5 separate regions of the Homo sapiens genome follow, and regions 2, 3, 4 and 5 are each linked to region 1. The links are contacts of gene promoters, found by promoter capture Hi-C in blood cells and fetal thymus (Javierre and others, 2016). All regions are on one chromosome and are shown on one strand. The core of a region is centred on a gene start or on the middle of the fragment in contact, and the rest is flanking DNA. Distances in the headings are between cores, read along the strand shown.

The links. The method cuts DNA at HindIII sites, captures the fragments that hold promoters and counts their contacts. A CHiCAGO score of 5 or more calls a contact.
Region 2: a fragment that was not itself captured here is called in contact with the fragment with the promoter of MCPH1 in region 1 in 4 of 17 cell types (naive B cells, total B cells, fetal thymus and 1 more); the score reaches 15.2 in naive B cells.
Region 3: a contact is called between a fragment that was not itself captured here and the fragment with the promoter of MCPH1 in region 1, in 2 of 17 cell types (total B cells and fetal thymus). The highest score is 7.1, in total B cells.
Region 4: a fragment that was not itself captured here is called in contact with the fragment with the promoter of MCPH1 in region 1 in 3 of 17 cell types (fetal thymus, total B cells and naive B cells); the score reaches 12.1 in fetal thymus.
Region 5: a fragment that was not itself captured here is called in contact with the fragment with the promoter of MCPH1 in region 1 in 3 of 17 cell types (total B cells, naive B cells and fetal thymus); the score reaches 12.1 in total B cells.

The regions. Positions count from the first base shown.
Region 1 is chr8:6,405,366-6,407,876 of GRCh38, reverse strand. MCPH1 (microcephalin 1) reads right to left here and starts at 1,250. Exons shown (of 14, transcript NM_024596.5): 1 at 1,188-1,250. The coding sequence starts at 1,209. It overlaps MCPH1-DT (MCPH1 divergent transcript), which reads left to right and starts at 1,329. Exons shown (of 2, transcript NR_040040.1): 1 at 1,329-2,171. RefSeq lists silencers at 989-1,168, 1,429-1,508. The HindIII fragment of the contact is 9,682 bases long and covers 1-2,511 here.
Region 2 is chr8:7,038,365-7,040,875 of GRCh38, reverse strand. It overlaps the pseudogene DEFA7P. Among named protein-coding and RNA genes, the nearest start is that of DEFA5, 17 kb to the left of the region's middle. The HindIII fragment of the contact is 1,257 bases long and covers 625-1,881 here.
Region 3 is chr8:6,955,512-6,958,022 of GRCh38, reverse strand. No RefSeq gene overlaps it. Among named protein-coding and RNA genes, the nearest start is that of DEFA4, 18 kb to the right of the region's middle. The HindIII fragment of the contact is 4,236 bases long and covers 1-2,511 here.
Region 4 is chr8:6,938,562-6,941,072 of GRCh38, reverse strand. No RefSeq gene overlaps it. Among named protein-coding and RNA genes, the nearest start is that of DEFA4, 1.5 kb to the right of the region's middle. The HindIII fragment of the contact is 1,307 bases long and covers 605-1,911 here.
Region 5 is chr8:6,917,422-6,919,932 of GRCh38, reverse strand. No RefSeq gene overlaps it. Among named protein-coding and RNA genes, the nearest start is that of DEFA6, 7.4 kb to the left of the region's middle. The HindIII fragment of the contact is 7,598 bases long and covers 1-2,511 here.

The DNA of each region.
Region 1 (2,511 bases), core at 1-2,500:
CTTAAAAATGTAAAAGACATTCTTAGCTCGTAGACCCTTACAAAAACAGGCAGCAGGCTAGATATGGCCTGGGGGGCATAGTGAGTGGACCCCTGTTCTAGTGGATATCCTCTTCTCAAAACCTGATGTTTAAAAGCATTTTCCAGGTGTGCCGTTGGTCAATGATTGGGGGTAACGCTAAAAGAAAACCAGGTTAATTTAACAAAATACTAACATTAGAAAAATAGCCACATCTGATTACAGACTTTGTATAAAGCCTCTAGTCTTTACTTTTGGCTATGAGGTTTTATGACTCCAGGCCCCACAATACAGGCCCCTTTTTTCTCACGGTCAAACTCTACAAGACACGTGTCCGCTATTCCCCTCTCCTGGGCTCTTCCAGGTGCACAGAGGGTGGGACTGCGTGCGGTATCATATACTGGTTAGGACAGCAGCTCCGGTCTAAGGCCCTGTCAGCACTGACTAGCCACACACAGGGAGAGTCACCTAAACGTCCGATGCCTTAGTTTCTGCCTGTAAAATGATATAAGAGAGTTGATAGAGCGGTTAAAAAAATCAGACAATACCATACTAGCCTAAGCACAGCGCCTGGCACACAAAGACTCCGCAGTAAAAGGCGGCTCCTATTATTGGAACAATTAGCATAGAAACTCAACTGCCGCTCCTCCAGGTGGGCCTCAGAGGGGGTCGAACAGGACCAGACCCAGGAGGGCCCCACACCAACTTCCGGAGGGCAGGACTCTGCCTGCCAGTGAGCCCCAGATCCAGGGACTAAGGCAGCAGGGGTGAAAGCAGGTAGGGGGAAAGGCGGGATTTGGGGGACAGGCAGCATGGGGGAGGGAGCAGGCAGCGGGGGATTGAGGGGAACTAGCAGCACGGGGGTTGGGGCACAAGCAGTACGGGGGAGGAAGCAGGCAGTCGGGGGTTTGGGGGGACAGGGAGCACGGGAGACGAAGCAGGCAGCCGGGGGTTTTGGGGGGACAGGCAGCGGGGGAGAGAGCAGGAGCAGGGGGTTTTGGTGGGACAGGCAGCGGGGGAGGAAGGAGGCGGCAGGGGGTCTGGGGGAGACAGGCAGCGAGGGAGGGGCGAGCGGGGCTCCTCCCACGGGATCCCCCGAGTGCGCCCGCGACGAGGGGTGCCGGTCCTCAAACTCCCGCTGCTGGAGCAGGCAGCAGGAAGTACCTCACCTTTCAGGATGGGGGCCGCCATGACAGACGGCGGGATCCGGCCAGCTGGCCTACGCGGTGCTTGCGAGCCTGGCGGCGCGCGCGGGCACTGGGCATGCGCGGGGTGAGCGCGCCGCCGTCACCGCGCTCCGCTGAATCCGCGTTTCCGGGATTTCTCTGTAGGTGAGGCGGGAGGCTGGAGGGAGCTGAGCCCCCGGGGAGGGGGCCCGATTCCGCCTCGCCGCGCCTCTGGCTGCTGGGCCGTGGGTTTTTCTCTTCTCCTGGGAGTAAGGAGGACGACGGCCCCTAACCCCTGAATTAGCCTTCTATTTCCATTAGTGACTTAGAAGCTACCCGGCGCCTCATCTGGGCTCACCTGAGCTGAGGATCAGGAAGGGGAGGGGGCACAGTCATTCCCTCGCGGACGCGGCGGGACCCCAGCGGACGGCTTTGTGCGGACTTTCGGCACCGTTATGCCCCCCTAGCCCGACACCACCTGGGGCTGGCGCGCCACGTTACTGTTCAGGGCCAGACGCACCGCCCTGCCTGCTCCGGGGAGCCGGACCTCCGATCCCGGGGATGGGGGACCCCGAGACCTCAGACCCAACGGAGGGGACTCTGATACCTCAGACCCCACGCGGGGACCCCGAGGCTTCAGACCCCCACAGGGTGACCCCGAGATCTCAGACCCCCGCAGGAGTACCTCCAGACCTCAAATCCCCAGTAAGGGAATGAAAGAGACTTCGGATCCCTGAGGCAGCAAATCCCTGTAGGGGCATCCCAGGACTCAGGTCACCGCGGGGTGAACCCAGACCTCACATTCAGGCAATCCCCAGGACGCCGATCGGCTGGCACTACCCACTGTCCCGGCCACCCCCCCTGGAGCTCAAAGGCTTGGCCCTCCAGCTGCTCCACCCTGCCGGCAACCAGGCTCAAACCTGCAGCCCGCGGATCCCCTGCCCCGGAAGCAACCAGATTCGCGGGAGGTTACCTGACTGATCCAAGGTGATACAGCTGGTAACTGATGGAGATGTTGGTAGTGAAATTCATGTACTTTTAGTTCTTTCTATGGAATCTAGAGGTAGAATACATGTAAAAGAATATCGACTACCGTCTACTCAGGTCTCTGTTTTATCTGTTTATTCATTCACTCTCAGCTTTTAATAGGATCCAATGAGCCCTCTGTGGTTCTGAAGAATTGCCTTGAGTATATGCAGCCTCAAAAAACCCACTTCCTAGGCTCAGTCTTTGATCAATATTTATCATTATCACCAGTTATTGTTCTAATAAACTCTACTCTGGAAATATGGTGTTATGGTTTACTTGGGAGTGTGAGTTCAGGGCA
Region 2 (2,511 bases), core at 4-2,503, 630 kb before region 1:
CCTCAGAGGGAACCAGTGAGGGAATATTTTGCCATCTGGGACTGTTGGTTGCTGGGGGCAGTGGCTATGAGCTCAGTTAATAAACTCAAGCAGTTTCCTTCCAAACACACATGTCCTACTTAACGTGTCCAACAGAGATGATCATACTCATAGCTGCTAAAACATTATTTTATTTTGAGAAAAGTCTATTCATGTTCTTGGCCCATGGAGTTTTCATTTATTATTTATTTATTTTGCAGAGATGGAGTCTCACTGTGTTGCTCAAGCTGGTCTCCAACTCCTGGGCTCAAGCGATCTTCCTACTTTGGCCTTTGAAAGCGCTGAGATTGCCTGTGTGAGCCATCATGGGGGCTCACTGGCCCACTGATTAATCAGATTAATTGTTTTTTGCTATTGAATTGTTTGACTTCCTTGTATATTCGGATATTTACCCATTCTAACACGTAGGGTTTGCAAATATTTTCTCTCATGTTCTGTGTTGCCTTTTCACTCAGTTGGTGGTTTCCTTTGCTGTGCAGGTGCTTTAGTGTTCAACGCAGCCCCGCTTGTCTATTTTCCATTTTATTGCCTGTCCCTTTGATGTCATAGCCAAGAAATAATTGCCCAGATTAATGTCAAAAAGCTTTATCCCTATATATTCTTCTAGTAGTTTATGGTTTCAGATCTTATGTTTAGGTCTTCAATCCATTGAGTTGATTTTTGTATGTGGTATAAGAAAAAAGACCACATGTATACATATCTCAAATTCTAAGGTAGTATATATTAGACACATACAATGTGTCTATTTACACACATTGAGCTGAAAATAATAAACATATTTTTATCTTTCAATCAACTCTATCTCTATCTCACTGAACTTGTTTCACCTATAGCCTGATGAGGTTGCTGTCCTCTCTACCCCAGCTCCTATAGGAGACTGCTCATCCCCTAACCTCAAAAACCCCTTCATGAGGGTGATAATGCCCTTGAATCCTGCAATGAATTAGTTCTCTACTACAGTGGAATTCAGGTCTGTTATGAGGGTCTGGATCTCTGAAGAGAAGAGCTCTCATTTTCAGAAAATAAGCAGGATTTATTCCCTGAAATTACTGAATTAAATCACTGTTTCGATTACTTTTTGCAATATTAAAAGTAAATATTTAAACAGGTAAAAACAGAAATAATGGTAGGGTCCTTATCATCACCGTGAATTCCAAGCTAGCATAGACACTAAACCTAGAGATTCACACTAGAATGAAAGCTGGGAGAGCAGAGGAGTCTCAGAAGGATGTGGAGGCCAATGGACACCTGCAACCTCTCCAACGAAATGCCTACCTCCTCTCACTGCAGCATCCATCTCTGAGCCTTCTCGCAGCAGAGCTATAAATTCAGCCTGGCTCCTCCGTTCCCACACATCCACTCCTGCTCTCCCTCCTCTCCTCCAGGTGACTACAGTTAGGAGGACCCTCACCCTCCTCTCTGCCTTTCTCCTGGTGGCCCTTCAGGCCTGGGCAGAGCCGCTCCCGGCAAGAGCTCATGAGATGCCAGCCCAGAAGCAGCCTCCAGCAGATGACCAGGATGTGGTCCTTTACTTTTCAGGAGATGACAGCTGCTCTCTTCAGGTTCCAGGTGAGAGATGCCAGCATGCAGAGCTACAGACTAGACAGAAGGACAGGAGACAGGCTCTGGAATTGGATCTCAGTGGCAGATGTCACTTAGGTGGCTATACTTAACATCTCTGGTCCTGGATTTTCTCATATCTAAATGGAATAGAGAACCAAAGAAATCTAAGAGATTTTTCTTTCTCCAAAAACTTGATTCCAAGATATGACTGTGAAATTCACTAGATTTAAGATATAAGGAGATGCTACCTAGTTCCTTCTGGAGCCAGACAAACAAGCTTAAGTATATAGAAAATATTTCACCCTGTCTATATAGGAGGTTTTAGAACCTGGAGAGGAGCCTAAGAATGTGTTCAGGTGTGTGTGTGATGGGCACGAATGCACAAAAGTGAAGCAAAGGAGAATGAGTCTCGAATCCTGTGTGACCAGCACTGCTCTGTGTATTTATTCCTATTGACTGAGATTGTTTGTGCTACCGGCTGTAATACAGCCAACATCACTCATCAGCCAACATGTGACTTCTCCAAGATTCCCTTTACCACCCACTGCTGACCCCGTACTCAGTTTCTGATGCTCTCTCTGGGTCCCCAGGCTCAACAAAGGGCTTGATCTGCCATTGCAGAGTACTATACTGCATTTTTGGAGAACATCTTGGTGGGACCTGCTTCATCCTTGGTGAACGCTACCCAATCTGCTGCTACTAAGCTTGCAGACTAGAGAAAAAGAGTTCATAATTTTCTTTGAGCATTAAAGGGAATTGTTATTCTTATACCTTGTCCTCGATTTCCTGTCCTCATCCCAAATAAATACTTGGTAACATGATTTCCGGGTTTTTTTTTTTTTGAGGCGGAGTCTCCCTCTGTCACCCAGGCTGGAGTGCAGTGGTGGGATCTCAGCTCATTGCAAGCTC
Region 3 (2,511 bases), core at 7-2,506, 550 kb before region 1:
GGCCCAGAGGGGGAGTCCAGTGTGAGCCCCTCATATTTACTCTGGATCGTGTAGTTGCAGTCAGTGATTTCAAAACACATGTTTGGGAAAAAAAAAAAAAACTATATTCAAACCATGCCTACTCTTAGCAGGTGGTCACTGTTAAGAGGTCCTAAGGAGTTTGACTGGGATAGAAAAATTACAGGCTTCAAAGAAAGGAAGGTGTCTCAAGTGGGTTATTCACCATTTCTGACTAAATCGTCTCATGGCCCAGACACTGCCGTGACCACCAACACTAACGACAAATGCCCAGAGCCCAGGAGAAGAATGCAGGTGTTTTTACGCACACCCCATGCAGATTCTGAGCAGATCGTGGCTCCAGACTGAGGCTCTGCCTATCTGAAGAGGCAGCTCAGGAGTCCAGGCACCCCTCTGAGACACCGCACAGCTGGGGAACTCAATACAGGTCCCAGGGAAGACACAGTAAGTCTGTGTGTGACAGAGAAATGGTCTGAGCTCTTCCTCTTGTTGAGACAGTGACGGAAACATATTGGGATTCACCGTTTGAAGTGCAGGAGCCTTCCTTAGTTTCTAAGAACTGCCACTGATTCAAAATCATGCGATCATAAGTTACTTTCCATATTGTTCCAAACTGCCATGGGGGCCGAGCTGACTCCATCTCGGGGCATCTGCACTGCACCCCGAAGGGCACCAGCTGGTTGCCCAGACCTGAAGTCTCAGCTAAAATTTCACCTTGTCACTGAGGTCTTTCTCGATTTCTCAATTTTAAATTGCAACAAGTTCCCCTAGTGGCCTCCATCCCTCTTGTTCTCTTTATTCCTAACTGTGGAATTGTAACTATCTCACCTTCTGTACGTTTCACTTACCATCTGTAACATTTCTCTCCCTACAATAGAAGGTGAGCAGCATGTTTTGCTTATCGTTATACCACAGTGCGTAGATAACTGCCTAATACATAGTAGGGGATCAACAAATTCATTATGGATAAATTAATTATAACCAATATCATGTAATTATATAGAATTCTATTATCATCACTAAACTATATAGGAAAAAACTGAAACCTACTGAGGTAAGGCAGTCCATGTGTCTAGTGCCTGTGATAGCAAACCTTTAAGAAACAAATCAAAAACACTGAAGTCTGAAATGTAGAACAATATCCTGGGTAAAATGTGGCTTCATGAAGCATTAGGACTTCAGGAGAAAGACAGAGATCATTTTGTCTTAGAGTGGCAATAAAGGATTTCATGGTGAAACATGAGATATTGAAAATGTGAATTTTCAGTGGTTAATTTCATGGTGAAACATGAGATATTGAAAATGTGAATAGATTAGAAGAAGGTGTAGAGCAGCATCTGCAGTGGAGAGAATGGCATCCTGGCCCTCAAACCAAAGTGGCGCCCCCGAACTTTAGACACTGGAGGCTGTGGCCACTTTAGAGGGTACCCTAGGCCACTGGTGCCTCTCACCAGATCTCCAACCAAGCAAGGGATGCTCAACTGCAGATGCCGTGCCGTGGTTAACACAGGCTGTGGCCGGCACTCCCTTGTTCCTGGGCCATCAACCTTTCAGCACATTGACTTCACTGGGCCCCTACCACACAGCCAGCACCTTTGCGTGCAGAAGCAGACACACAACCCTGCACTTCCATCAACTCTTCCAACCCAAGACCCTTGGTGTAGCAGGTGCTCTCTTGCTGTGACATTTGCTCTGTGACATTTCCCTCTCGGAAACCACCCAATATCATTGATCAAGACCTAGGCTCCCACTTCAAGGCAGTGGTGGTGACATAGGAATGGGCATCACAGCATGAGGGTTTAGGGGACTCTCACTTGGCCCATTGCCCCCAAGCCACCAGCCTCCCCAAGCAGCACAGTGGCCTCCTAAAGTCATTCTTATTGAAGTTGTGGCATGAAACCCCAAGGGGACCAAGCCCCTTCTGAGAGTCCTAACTTTCTTAACTCTCTACCCTGTGGCCACCAGTGCCTCATTATAATTAGGCCAGGCCCACCATGGTGAACACTTTGGTAATCACAGAAGAGTAAGGTTCATTTTCCCTTACAGATAACATCATTCACATTTGCTCCAATAATGATAACTCCTCATACTGTGATAAGAGGTCCATTGTCTCAACATCATACATTTACTGGAAAACAGATTGTGGATGGATAGTAAGCTGTGAGTCCCTAAGGACTGGCAGCCCAGGCCCACTGGTACCCAGCAGGGCCACAGTGATTCTGCTATACCACACCTCCCATCTTGACGTGCAGCTTCCAGCAGAAGCTCCAGTTCTTACTACTTTGAAATTTAGCTAATGTCTCCCACTCACCCCTTCCTGGAGGTAGTAGGGATTATTGCTCCAAGACCCAAAAAGGGCACAGAATGAGTCACTAAACAAACAGAAGCCTTCAGACTAGTGGACATAGACTACATTAGCTGATGATCACATGGAAGTATCATTCCCAAATGTAGCCTGTGTCAATGGTGGAGAAAGACTCTGAAGAAACATTG
Region 4 (2,511 bases), core at 9-2,508, 530 kb before region 1:
CTGTGTCGATTGCAGAAAAATGCTCTGAAGAAATGTTGGTGAAAGCCCACCCCATAATCAATATCGACGTAAAAGTACCTTGAGGAAATCCCTGAGTTATAAGCTGTCAGTGCTCTCTATCTTTGGCCTTGCTGGGTATCTTATGTATGTAAATGTTGTACGGCTGCTCTTAGGCCTGGGGCCTGGCATCCCAGAGAGCTGCTGGAACAGGACAGCCACTGTGAGAAATTGAACCCCAGGCTGGAAAACTGTGGCATGTTGAGGCAATGTGCTAGAGGGGCAAAACCCCAAATGCCACCTGACCTGGATCCAAGCCAGGAAACCCGATCCTTAGATATTGAATGGGACCCATGGCACTAAAGCTTAAACACCAGCAACCCCCACAATCAGAGGCAGGTGGCCCTCCCCATGACCAGGCATGAATACAAACCAGCTAATGATGCCTCAGCACAAACTCAGTCTGTGGCCGGAAAGGTTGGAGCCTCACATGCAGAGAAAGCATTCAAACACGTTCATGGGCTTAGGGATACTTCTGTGCTCCAAAGTATGTGAGTTGTGGATGGAAATGTCCTATCCCCCGACCAAGGAAAGCACCACTCAAGCTTTCACTAAACGCTTCCATGGAGTCCCACAGAGGCCAGAGGCCTGTGCAACACCAGCCCATACCCTCTCTCTTCTTGAGTGACCAGCTGGAAAGGCCACCCCTACCCGAAAGGCCATCACCTCAGAAGACAGTGCTCTGATCCAAGGGTTTGTCCTGGGAAACAGTGGCCTCACCAGAACCAGAGACACCAAGGAATCTCATCTTGACTGTGGGGTCATCCCCAAACCAGACTCACCTTACTCTCCTTCCTGCCGCAAGGTATGGATCTCACCACCCCCGGGACATGGAGTTGGCTCACGTCCAGTACCTGGACCCGTGCTTTCTTAGCTCATGCTTTCCTGAGGACCCTGCAGATGACCCCTTAGAATGGTATTTTGCTGGGATCCCCATTTGTCTTCAGTGTAACCCATTAGTTAAACCGCCTACTGCAAGGAAACCACAAGGCTTGGATCAGATCAGGAGGCTGCCCTACAAGTTATGCCAAAAAATATGGACTTGGAAGACCTGTCTGTTATAATATCACACCCAAATCTAACCAGCTCTGCCAATAACAGCTCTCTCCTATGTTACTAGGAAAATGCCTATGGATTGGAGTGTGTTCTGTGTGCAGGAGGCTGGTCCAGGTTTCACTTCTGCAGGACACTGGACATCCCCACAACCACCAGACCTTCCCCACGTGCACACACACCCCTTCTCATTTTGCCTCTACATCCATATCCACTGGGCCCTTCAGGCACCTACTAATGCCCTAGAACCTAAAACCATCATCTGGGGCCCAGTTCCCCAAATAGCCCTAATTTCTTCCTCTGCTGGAATGAGTCCAGTGCCCACTTCCTCCAAAGGTGAAATTGCTGGGCCTGCAACAGATCAGGAACTCACTGCTTCCTCATAGGGGCAGCCGACTTCACTGCTCTGGAACAGCGACCACCCCTAGCGAGGCTTGAGATGCCTCTTCCCTCCTTAAGACTGAGAGCGCCGCTGCCCCCAGTCCTCCATAGCCCAGTGCCTGCTGCCTTCACGCAGAGCTGCAGGGGAGGCCCTGAGCACCCAGCCTGCTGGACCAGCGCTGTGCACGGCCCTCCCATGGCGGCAGGGGCTGCCTGGACTGCATACTGGGTTCAGCAACCTCACTATAGGTATTCATTCCCTCAGGAACAACTGCATTCTTTTCTCATTTCCAGAAACCTCATCCCGTTTACCTCACTACAAGGAGGAGGATGGTGGAGAGTGGTACATTTTAAAATGTGCACTAGTCTCCCTGGGACTCCCCTTCAAATAACCCAGGAGGGACCACACAAGGGAAAGCTTATGCATCCCCCCCACCCAGTGACCATCTTCCTAACTCTGGGTGTAGGGAGACTCGTAAGCCTACGGGATTGGTTTGGGAACAGGGTATTTGAGCTCACAACACAAGGTGATGCAAGCTAACACCAATCTCGCTGCAGCTTTGGCCACCATCCTAAGGGACTTCTGACAGACATTAGGTGTCACGCAATCATTTGATGAGTCCTTGGCCTGGATGACCTAGACAGTCATTTAGGCTTGAACTATCTAAGGCCAAGCAAAAAGGTGACTGTCCCCTCTAGGGAACCACATGCTATATGCACATCCTTTACTCGGGAGCCTGCAACCTGCCCTATCCAGCAACACAAGCCCAGGCGGTATTCAGTCTCATCCAGGTATTCTCCAACCTTACTTGTCTGAATGGCTTGGATTTGTTTTTATGGTTAGACCCCAGGGCCTGGGGAGGTCAGTTCAGACCACATTCCAAATCCTCATCTGTGTGTGGGTGGCATTTTGATCCTAGTCTCCTCGCAAGGTGTATACAACAATATGCAGGCCAGGCTCTCCTGGTGGCTTTAAATATTCCCTCGGTCCAGGTAGTTCAGCCTCAGCCACCAGCATAG
Region 5 (2,511 bases), core at 6-2,505, 510 kb before region 1:
TCAGGGAAGGGGGTTTAAGTATAGGGTTTTCATGTTATCCAAAAAAGATGTGAGGTTTTGTTGTTGTTGTTTGTTTGTTTGTTTTTTGAGACAGCATCTCACTCCATTGCCAAGGCTGCAGTACAGTGGCGTGATCTCAGTTCACTGCAATCTCCGTCTCCCAGGTTCAAGCAATTCTCCTGCCTCAGCCTCTGGAGTAGCTGGGATTACAGGTGCCTGCCACCACGCCTGGCTAGTTTTTCTGTTTTTAATAGAGATGGGGTTTCACCACATTGTTCAGGCTGGTCTCAAACTCCTGACCTCAAGTGATCCAACCGCCTCGGCCTCCCAAAGTGCTGAGATTACAGGCCTGAGCCACCATGAGCGCAGGGCTAGGATGTGACTTTTTGAGGCTGGAAAACAATGACAGAGAGGAGACCCCCTGGTGGTGAAGTGCGTCTCTATTCTACCACTAGAGGGTGGCAGCGTGTCCCATGGTGTCCCCAAGCCCCTGGACAGCCAGGTTTCCATGAACACCTAGGGGTTCCGCTCATGCTACCAAAGTCCCTGCTAAAGAGAAAGCACTTTCAGAGAAAACAAAGTGGCCCAAGGCCCAAGGGAAACAAGCTGGCAAAAAGGTTCCGCCACACATCCACCTGGCAGCACCCACTCCATCTTCCCTCCCAAATATTCTCTAGTGAAAGACCCTTTTCTCTTTCTTTCCATTTTTTCTTGTGCCAAGCTGTACATTTTTTAAGGCATATATATAATTAGTTCTATTTTTATTATTTGTTTCCATAAACACAAAATTACATGCCAATAAATATAACCAGAACAAAACATGGTACAGAGAAAAAAAAATCTCTGTGCCTGTTGTTTAATGCTAGTGTGCTGGGAGGCATGAAACAGAGAGAATCACCGTCCTCTTCGTAACTTACTGTTCTTTCTCAATTATAATTAAGCAAAAGTTATACGTGAAACAGTGGTTATCCATATTAAATGCCTATAAATATTTTGAATGAAGACTGCCTATTTCATATTTAAAGTTTGCTTTTCCTTGGTGATGTGTCTCAGTCAGATTGATGACAAAGCTACTGGCAGGAAATACTATGTATCTGAATAATTTCTATGCTTTGTTTCAACAACACATCGAAACAAAATAACCTCAGAGTTATCTGCAGAAATAAAAGAAGAAGTAAAAACCTACAGCAAACTCAGAATATTCTTTAACTTTTATACAAAATAAAATGACACTGTATTTTTAGATTTCATCTTTAACCCCTCATCAGCAGCCAGTTTCAACAAGTAGTGGTTTCATTTCAATTATGTTTCAATAAAAGTAATAGATTCTGGTTCCTGGATTTCCTGTGCATCAATCTTATTCGACGAAACAAAATTTCAATGTACTACCTATGTCATAGGCTGTTCAGTGATACAAAGATAGAGAGAGTGAGAGAGAGAGAGAGACAGAGATTTTAGATACAGGTCTGATAGAGACAGAGATAGAGATACAGATATCCTCCTCCTGTTTGCTCACTATGCCAGGGTATTCTCAAAGCATTTATTGAACTTAAAAGAGCCACAGCATACAAGAAACCTGGGTCTTGAATGACTGCAAGGAGCAAAGGCTGCCCCCACATGAGTGCCCCAATGCCCCCCATCCTGCAGCCTATTCCATGAGTCATAAATAAACCTCTATTGCATTGAATCACTATGAGTTGGGGGTTATTTGTTCTCATATTTGCAATATTTGGAAATAACTGTACTAATAAAAATTGTAATTTCTCCAAAAGTCAGATTGAACTGAGTATCTCTTTATATTATCTGCCAACACTAAATTTAATTAACACAAATGAAAGATAATAGGACACCTGCAGCCATCTGTTTTTAATGCACTTTTTGATTTTGGTTATTTCTGCCCCAGTTGCTTTCATTATACAGTGAGAAGAAACAATCTTCGGACTATCTCACATTAATAACATCAAGAGTTGTTTTATAACAAAAAATACTATCAAAGTCAAAATAAATAAGGCGATTACTAATACACTGATCTCTCTGGAGGGAAGGGCTATAACAGATAGGTGGCTTTTTCTTGAATTCTTCAGCCCGAGTGGATGCAGCAGGGTCCAGAATACAGGGTATTGGGGCTCCTATGCAAGAGCAGACTCTGCTCCATGCAGTCATTCAAGACCCAAGTTTCTTCTATGCTGTGGCTGTGTCGAGTTAACAAATGCTTCAAGGATACCCTGGCATAGTGAGCAGATAGGTGGAAGATATCTCTATCTCTAGCTCTATGTCTATCTATCTATATTCGTAATCTATCTGTCTATTTATCTATCTTTCTTGGTATCCCTGAACAGCCTATGATATAGGTAGCACATTCAAATTTTGTTCCATCAAATAAGATCAGTGCACAGGAAGTGCGGGAGCCAGAACCTATTTCTTTCACAGAAAGATAATTCAAATAAAATTATTTTTTTTGAGAGGGAGTCTCGCTGTCTTGCCCAGGCTGGAGAACAATGGCACGACCTC